Linked DNA regions of Homo sapiens: region 1 is linked to region 2. The links are contacts of gene promoters, found by promoter capture Hi-C in human tissues and cell types (Jung and others, 2019). All regions are on one chromosome and are shown on one strand. Each heading gives the region's core, a stretch centred on a gene start or on the middle of the fragment in contact. The rest is flanking DNA. Distances are from core to core; before and after follow the strand shown. Region 1 holds the start of SERTAD3 (SERTA domain containing 3). Region 2 holds the start of ZFP36 (ZFP36 ring finger protein).

Region 1 (2,700 bases), core at 174-2,673, 1.0 Mb after region 2:
TACTATATTCGAAATCTCCTGGAGCCCTGTTGGGGAACCTATGTTGAGATTCTTCTTCAACAGTCGGGATATTTCTATGTCCTCTTCCTTAACCGACTGGGAGCGCTCCCAAGAGTAGGAAAGGGGCCTGTCTCATTCCCTCTGCCCACGCTTTCAGATTCCCCCAAAGCGCGCCCCATAGGAAAACTTGCTAGAACTCAGCTCAGACCAAGCCCCGCCCCCTCGGAGGTCCCACTCAATCAGACCGCGACACTGTAAGGCCCCGCCCCCCCATGGGTCCTTACAGAGCATCCAGGAACGCCCCAATTTGGCCCAGGGGCTTCTGGGAAACGGGGGCCAACAGCCGCCAGGTACACGAATTGACGTCGAGCACGCACTACAATCCCCAGAGGGCTCCGCCCGTCCAGGGGACGAGCCACCCCCCTCACCCCGCTCTCCCTCAGGGCATGCGCACAGGGGCACAGGCGGGTGGGGGAAGGGAACCTGGACGTCCAGCTGCCGGCGCCTGCCGAGCCCCGCCCTCCATTGCCTCCGGGGCCGCGAGTCTGAGCTCCAGGCCCGGAACACCCCTCCCCCACCCCAGACTCCGGCTCTAAATTTGCTTTCTCCCGGTCCCTCTGTTCCTTGAAAGTCCGCGATTCTCCTTCCAAACTGCCCTTGGATCCAGAGACCCAGATCCGAACACATCGCTCAAAGACGACAATGCTCCGATCTAGTTCGGGAGACTACGTATCCTAATTCTGATACTTCCTCCCACTTCTCCTAGTCTCCTGACTTTCAAACGCCCCTGGACTTCACCTCCAAACTCGCTGTCCGGCTCCAAGACCCGAACATTGAACTCTTCCCGGCAACCTCCTTCCCCCGCCAGTGCGTCTTGGAGTCCCAAGAATCCTTGACCCTAGTTCTCTCGCTTCTCCAAATACTCAGAATCTCAGCTCCGTACCTCTCACACCTTTTCCAGAACACGATAAAGCCCCGAATTCAACCCGTCCGGAAGACCCAAGTGGAATCGAATCTCCAGGTTCCCTGTCTCAAAAGTTCCTCCCCTCTGTTCTCTCGCTTCTCCAAAAGCCCAACGTCCCAGCTTCAAACTCCCTCCACTTGAAAATACTGCCCCAACAACCTCGCCTCCCCTCCTGGGTCTTGAACTCAGTCTCAGGTCCCCAGACCCTCCCTATCATCACCCTGAATCTGAGGCCCCCTCCCCCGGTCCCACCCAGACCCCGCCTCCGCAAGTCCCCGGGGCGCGCTTCTCTCTCCCCCAGCCTAAGGTAAATTCCCAAGCCAGGCGACCACTCCTCACCGCAGCTGCCAGGTTCGCCACGACCACCTCCTGGAACGCCCACAGCGTTGCGACCCGCCAGTGCCAGGACCCACCAGTGACCGGTTGGAGCCTCGCTCACCTCGGCGGGGCCTCTCCGTCTGGCCTCTGGCCCACCAGCCCCGCCCCGGAGCCGAGCCGCGAGCCGCGATTGGCTGGAGTCCCGCCCGCCGCGGGGCGTCGATTGGCTGGGCGGAGCCATCCGCCCGTGCCCCGAGACGCCGGATCCGCCCACCCCTCCCTAGCGCCCCGGGCCATTTAAAGAAGTGCAACTGGCAGGGGGCGGGGCAGCGACTCCGGGGTGGAGGGCGGCCGGTCCAACAGAACCGCTTCCTTCCACTCAGCTACAGTCCTCGCTCCAAGATCGTCACCATTGCTCCCTGCGGTTCCTTTATGGTAGGCCTGGACTCCACCGTGGAGCCAGAGGGGCTGGCATGCCCCTCCCCAAGTCGCTGTGCAGGCGGGCGGGGCCGAGCAACCGGAGGAGGCCGCGCCCCCGGGGTTCCGAGGGAGGACGCTGGGGCGCGGGGGATGACGTAGCGGAAGACCAGCCAATAGAGTGGCGCGGCCCGCGTTGCCTAGGCGATCGTAGCCTCGCCCCCTTGCTGCCCCTCCCGCCCCCTATACGTTACCGCGCGGCCCCTTCTTAATCCTCAGGTTTTCTCAGCACGTCCTCTGGTGGTCCCACCTGGGTCTTCTGACACCCTCTTTCCTTCCCCGCTCCATCAAGATGACTCCTCTGCTACTGTTCATGGCTTCCTACCCACCCCGAATACAAACTTCAAACTCCTTCCTTTTGCCACAAAGCCCCTCACGACCTTGCTTGATGCGTTCTCCTGGTTCTCTCCGATCCTGCCCCATTGAGTCACTTCCAGTTTTTCTAAAATGGCTTCAAGCTCCCATTCACCCCATCAGGAAAACGAAAGGATTTTCTCTGTTTGTTTTCTTCCCTGCTTTACCCCAGTGTCTACAACAATGCCAGGTACATAATAAGTTCGCAAACATGACAATAAAAGGCCTCTGGATCTTTATTATTAATATTATTTTTTGCCGGGCGCAGTGGCGCACGCCTGTAATCCCAGCACTTTGGGAGGCGGAGGCGGGCAGATCACTTGAGGTCAGGAGTTTGAGACCAGCCTGGCCAACAATGGTGAAACCCCGTCTCTACTAAAAATACAAAAATTAGCTGGGCGTGGTGGCGCACGCTTGTAATCTCAGCCACTTGGGAGGCTGAGGCAGGAGAATCGCTTGAACCTGGGAGGTTGAGGTTGCAGTGAAGGCGAGATCGTGCCACTGCACTCCAGCCTGGGTGACAGAGAGATGGGGGAGGGGGGAGGGGGGTTTTCTTGTGTTGCCCAGGTTGGTTTTGAACTCCTGGC
Region 2 (2,839 bases), core at 79-2,578:
ACTTTGGTTTCCTCCTGCCTTAAATGGGCATACCACCTGGCATTAGGATTAATGTGCGTAAAGTACTTAGAACTCAGCCCAGGTGAGTTCTCCTTAACTCAGCCTAGAAGAGATCATCCGCCCGAGGGTGAGGGGGCTAGAGCCGCCCTGTGAATTGGGAAAGGAGGCCCCTTTTCAGCCTTGCCAGGTATCCTGGACCCCACCCAACCCACTCACTCACCCACCCAACCCCAGCAAGTGGGGAGAGGGAGAGCAGTCCAGGTCTCCTTATCTGTCTGGGCTGTTTAGGAGTGAGACCACACAAGGCAGGCAGTTCTCAGAGAATTCCCCTCCAAGGCCTGCTGGCTCTTTCTTGGCACTTTGCTCTGCAGATTTCTTTCCGTAAGTGCTTATTTCTCACAGTCTTTCTCCTTTTTGTCCAGTTTCTTTTTCTTTTTAATTTTTTTAAATAGTATTTTTTGTAGACATGGGATCTCACTGTTGCCCAGGCTGATCTTGAACTCCTGATCTCAGGTAATCCACCTGCCTCATCCTCTGAAAGTACTGGGATTGGCCGGGCTTGGTGGCTCACACCTGTAATTCCAGCTCTTTGGGAGGCGGAGGTGGGAGGATCGCTTGAGCCCCGGAGCTGGAGATTAGCCTGGGCAACATAGGGAAACCCCGTCTTTCAAAAAAAAAAAAAAAGAAGAAGAAAAAGGAAAGAAAAACACAAAAAGTGCTGGGATCACAGGTGTGAGCCACTGCGCTCAGCCCCTTTCTGTTTCTTTTTGTGATCCTCCCAACCCTCTTCTCCCTCTGAATCTGTCTCTGGGACTGTCTCTGTCTCCCCGTCTTCCCTCCCTTCCTCACCCTGTCTATCTCTCTCTGTATGTCTCTTGGTGTGTGTGTCTCTCTCGATGTTTTTCTCTCTGCCTGTCTGCCTGTCTGTACCCCTCTGCGTCTCTCCCCGCCCCCATCCGTCTGTGTCGCACGCGCACCCCCATCGGGCTTCTGCTCTTGTCAATTGCCCCTGGGGCCCTGCCCCCACCTCCGCCCCAGTTTCCTTCTACAAGCCTCAGTCTCCAGCTTTGAAAACTGGGCAGGCGTCCCCCCATCCGCACCCCCACCCCTTCCCCACGCATTCCCCGCTCGGTCACGGCTGTCCACCGGCCAAGCTCAGGCGCGTCCTGGCCCAGGGCCGGGCGGAAGGGAACCAGTCCAGGGCCAGCCAGGCTGCGCCGGGGGCGCGCGTCCGGGAAGCGCCCCTCCTGCCCCGCCCCCGGCCCCGGCCCCGGCCCCGCCCCGTGCTTGCAGTTTCCTATAAGTAGCCGGCTCTCGGTGCCAGCCTCAGCCTGACTTCAGCGCTCCCACTCTCGGCCGACACCCCTCATGGCCAACCGTTACACCATGGATCTGACTGCCATCTACGAGGTGAGTCCCCGCCGCACGGCATCCCCGGTACCTGCATGCCTGAGTCCGAGTCCCCACCTCTCTAGCGCCGCAAACTCCAGCCCGGGACGCTTGCCTCCCTTCTCCAACTGGGGCTCCCTAGCGCCGCGCCCTCCAGCCTGGGGCCCCTGCCTCCCGCTCAGACCAGCTTGGTGATTTGGAGGTGAAAATGGAACCCGCGACACCCGGCTCTTCGCTCAAACATGGGTGGGGCGGCCCATGCAAGTGGAAAGTCGGAGAACTTTTCTCAGACCGAGGCTGCCTGGAGGCGGAAGTGGCCCCCATACCTGGCTCACCCCTAGTCGTTGCTGAGGGCGTGGTTTTGCGCGGAGGCGTCTCTGGGGCTGAAGTCTCAGGGTGGGGGGATCCGACTTCTGTCTCTCCAGTCCCTGACCGTAGAGACAGAGAACCCTAAAACCGAAGCAATCCGGACTTCCAGGTCAACTTTGCCCGGTTTCTCCAGTTGTGAAACTGGAGATCCCGACGCGTGGGTCATATCCGGGGAGGACAAGAGACCCAAAATTGGGAAACAGTGGTGCGCCCTGACTTCGGGGTCCCCCTCTTGGTCCAGCCGGGGAAGCCGGGATTCCTGGGTCCCTCGGGATAAGGCCTCGGTGGTGGGTAAACTCAGAACCTCCAACTCTGGGTTCCTGGCATCCGGAACCCAGGGGTTTCTGCGGGCGGGTGGGGCTCAGGCGGGGAGCCCACAAACCGGCCTGGCAAGCTCTAGTTCCCTGCAGCTGGGGTGGGGCGTCGCCCTGCATTTTCAGGTGCCTTAACCGACCCATTTCCGCAGAGCCTCCTGTCGCTGAGCCCTGACGTGCCCGTGCCATCCGACCATGGAGGGACTGAGTCCAGCCCAGGCTGGGGCTCCTCGGGACCCTGGAGCCTGAGCCCCTCCGACTCCAGCCCGTCTGGGGTCACCTCCCGCCTGCCTGGCCGCTCCACCAGCCTAGTGGAGGGCCGCAGCTGTGGCTGGGTGCCCCCACCCCCTGGCTTCGCACCGCTGGCTCCCCGCCTGGGCCCTGAGCTGTCACCCTCACCCACTTCGCCCACTGCAACCTCCACCACCCCCTCGCGCTACAAGACTGAGCTATGTCGGACCTTCTCAGAGAGTGGGCGCTGCCGCTACGGGGCCAAGTGCCAGTTTGCCCATGGCCTGGGCGAGCTGCGCCAGGCCAATCGCCACCCCAAATACAAGACGGAACTCTGTCACAAGTTCTACCTCCAGGGCCGCTGCCCCTACGGCTCTCGCTGCCACTTCATCCACAACCCTAGCGAAGACCTGGCGGCCCCGGGCCACCCTCCTGTGCTTCGCCAGAGCATCAGCTTCTCCGGCCTGCCCTCTGGCCGCCGGACCTCACCACCACCACCAGGCCTGGCCGGCCCTTCCCTGTCCTCCAGCTCCTTC

What was found. The method cuts DNA at HindIII sites, captures the fragments that hold promoters and counts their contacts. A contact is called where the count stands out against the background at its distance.
Region 1: the fragment with the promoter of SERTAD3 here is called in contact with the fragment with the promoter of ZFP36 in region 2 in 1 of the 25 tissues and cell types used here (spleen).

Annotation. Positions count from the first base shown.
Region 1 is chr19:40,442,912-40,445,611 of GRCh38, forward strand. SERTAD3 (SERTA domain containing 3) reads right to left here and starts at 1,424. Exons shown (of 2, transcript NM_203344.3): 1 at 1,304-1,424. It overlaps SERTAD3-AS1 (SERTAD3 antisense RNA 1), which reads left to right and starts at 1,606. Exons shown (of 2, transcript NR_187496.1): 1 at 1,606-1,717; 2 at 1,979-2,352. RefSeq lists silencers at 271-650, 1,116-1,175, 1,356-1,675, 1,736-1,955. The HindIII fragment of the contact is 14,341 bases long and covers 1-2,700 here.
Region 2 is chr19:39,405,519-39,408,357 of GRCh38, forward strand. ZFP36 (ZFP36 ring finger protein) reads left to right here and starts at 1,329. Exons shown (of 2, transcript NM_003407.5): 1 at 1,329-1,410; 2 at 2,225-2,839. The coding sequence starts at 1,387. RefSeq lists a silencer at 923-1,372 and enhancers at 1,493-1,692, 1,743-2,380, 2,381-2,839. The HindIII fragment of the contact is 20,061 bases long and covers 1-2,839 here.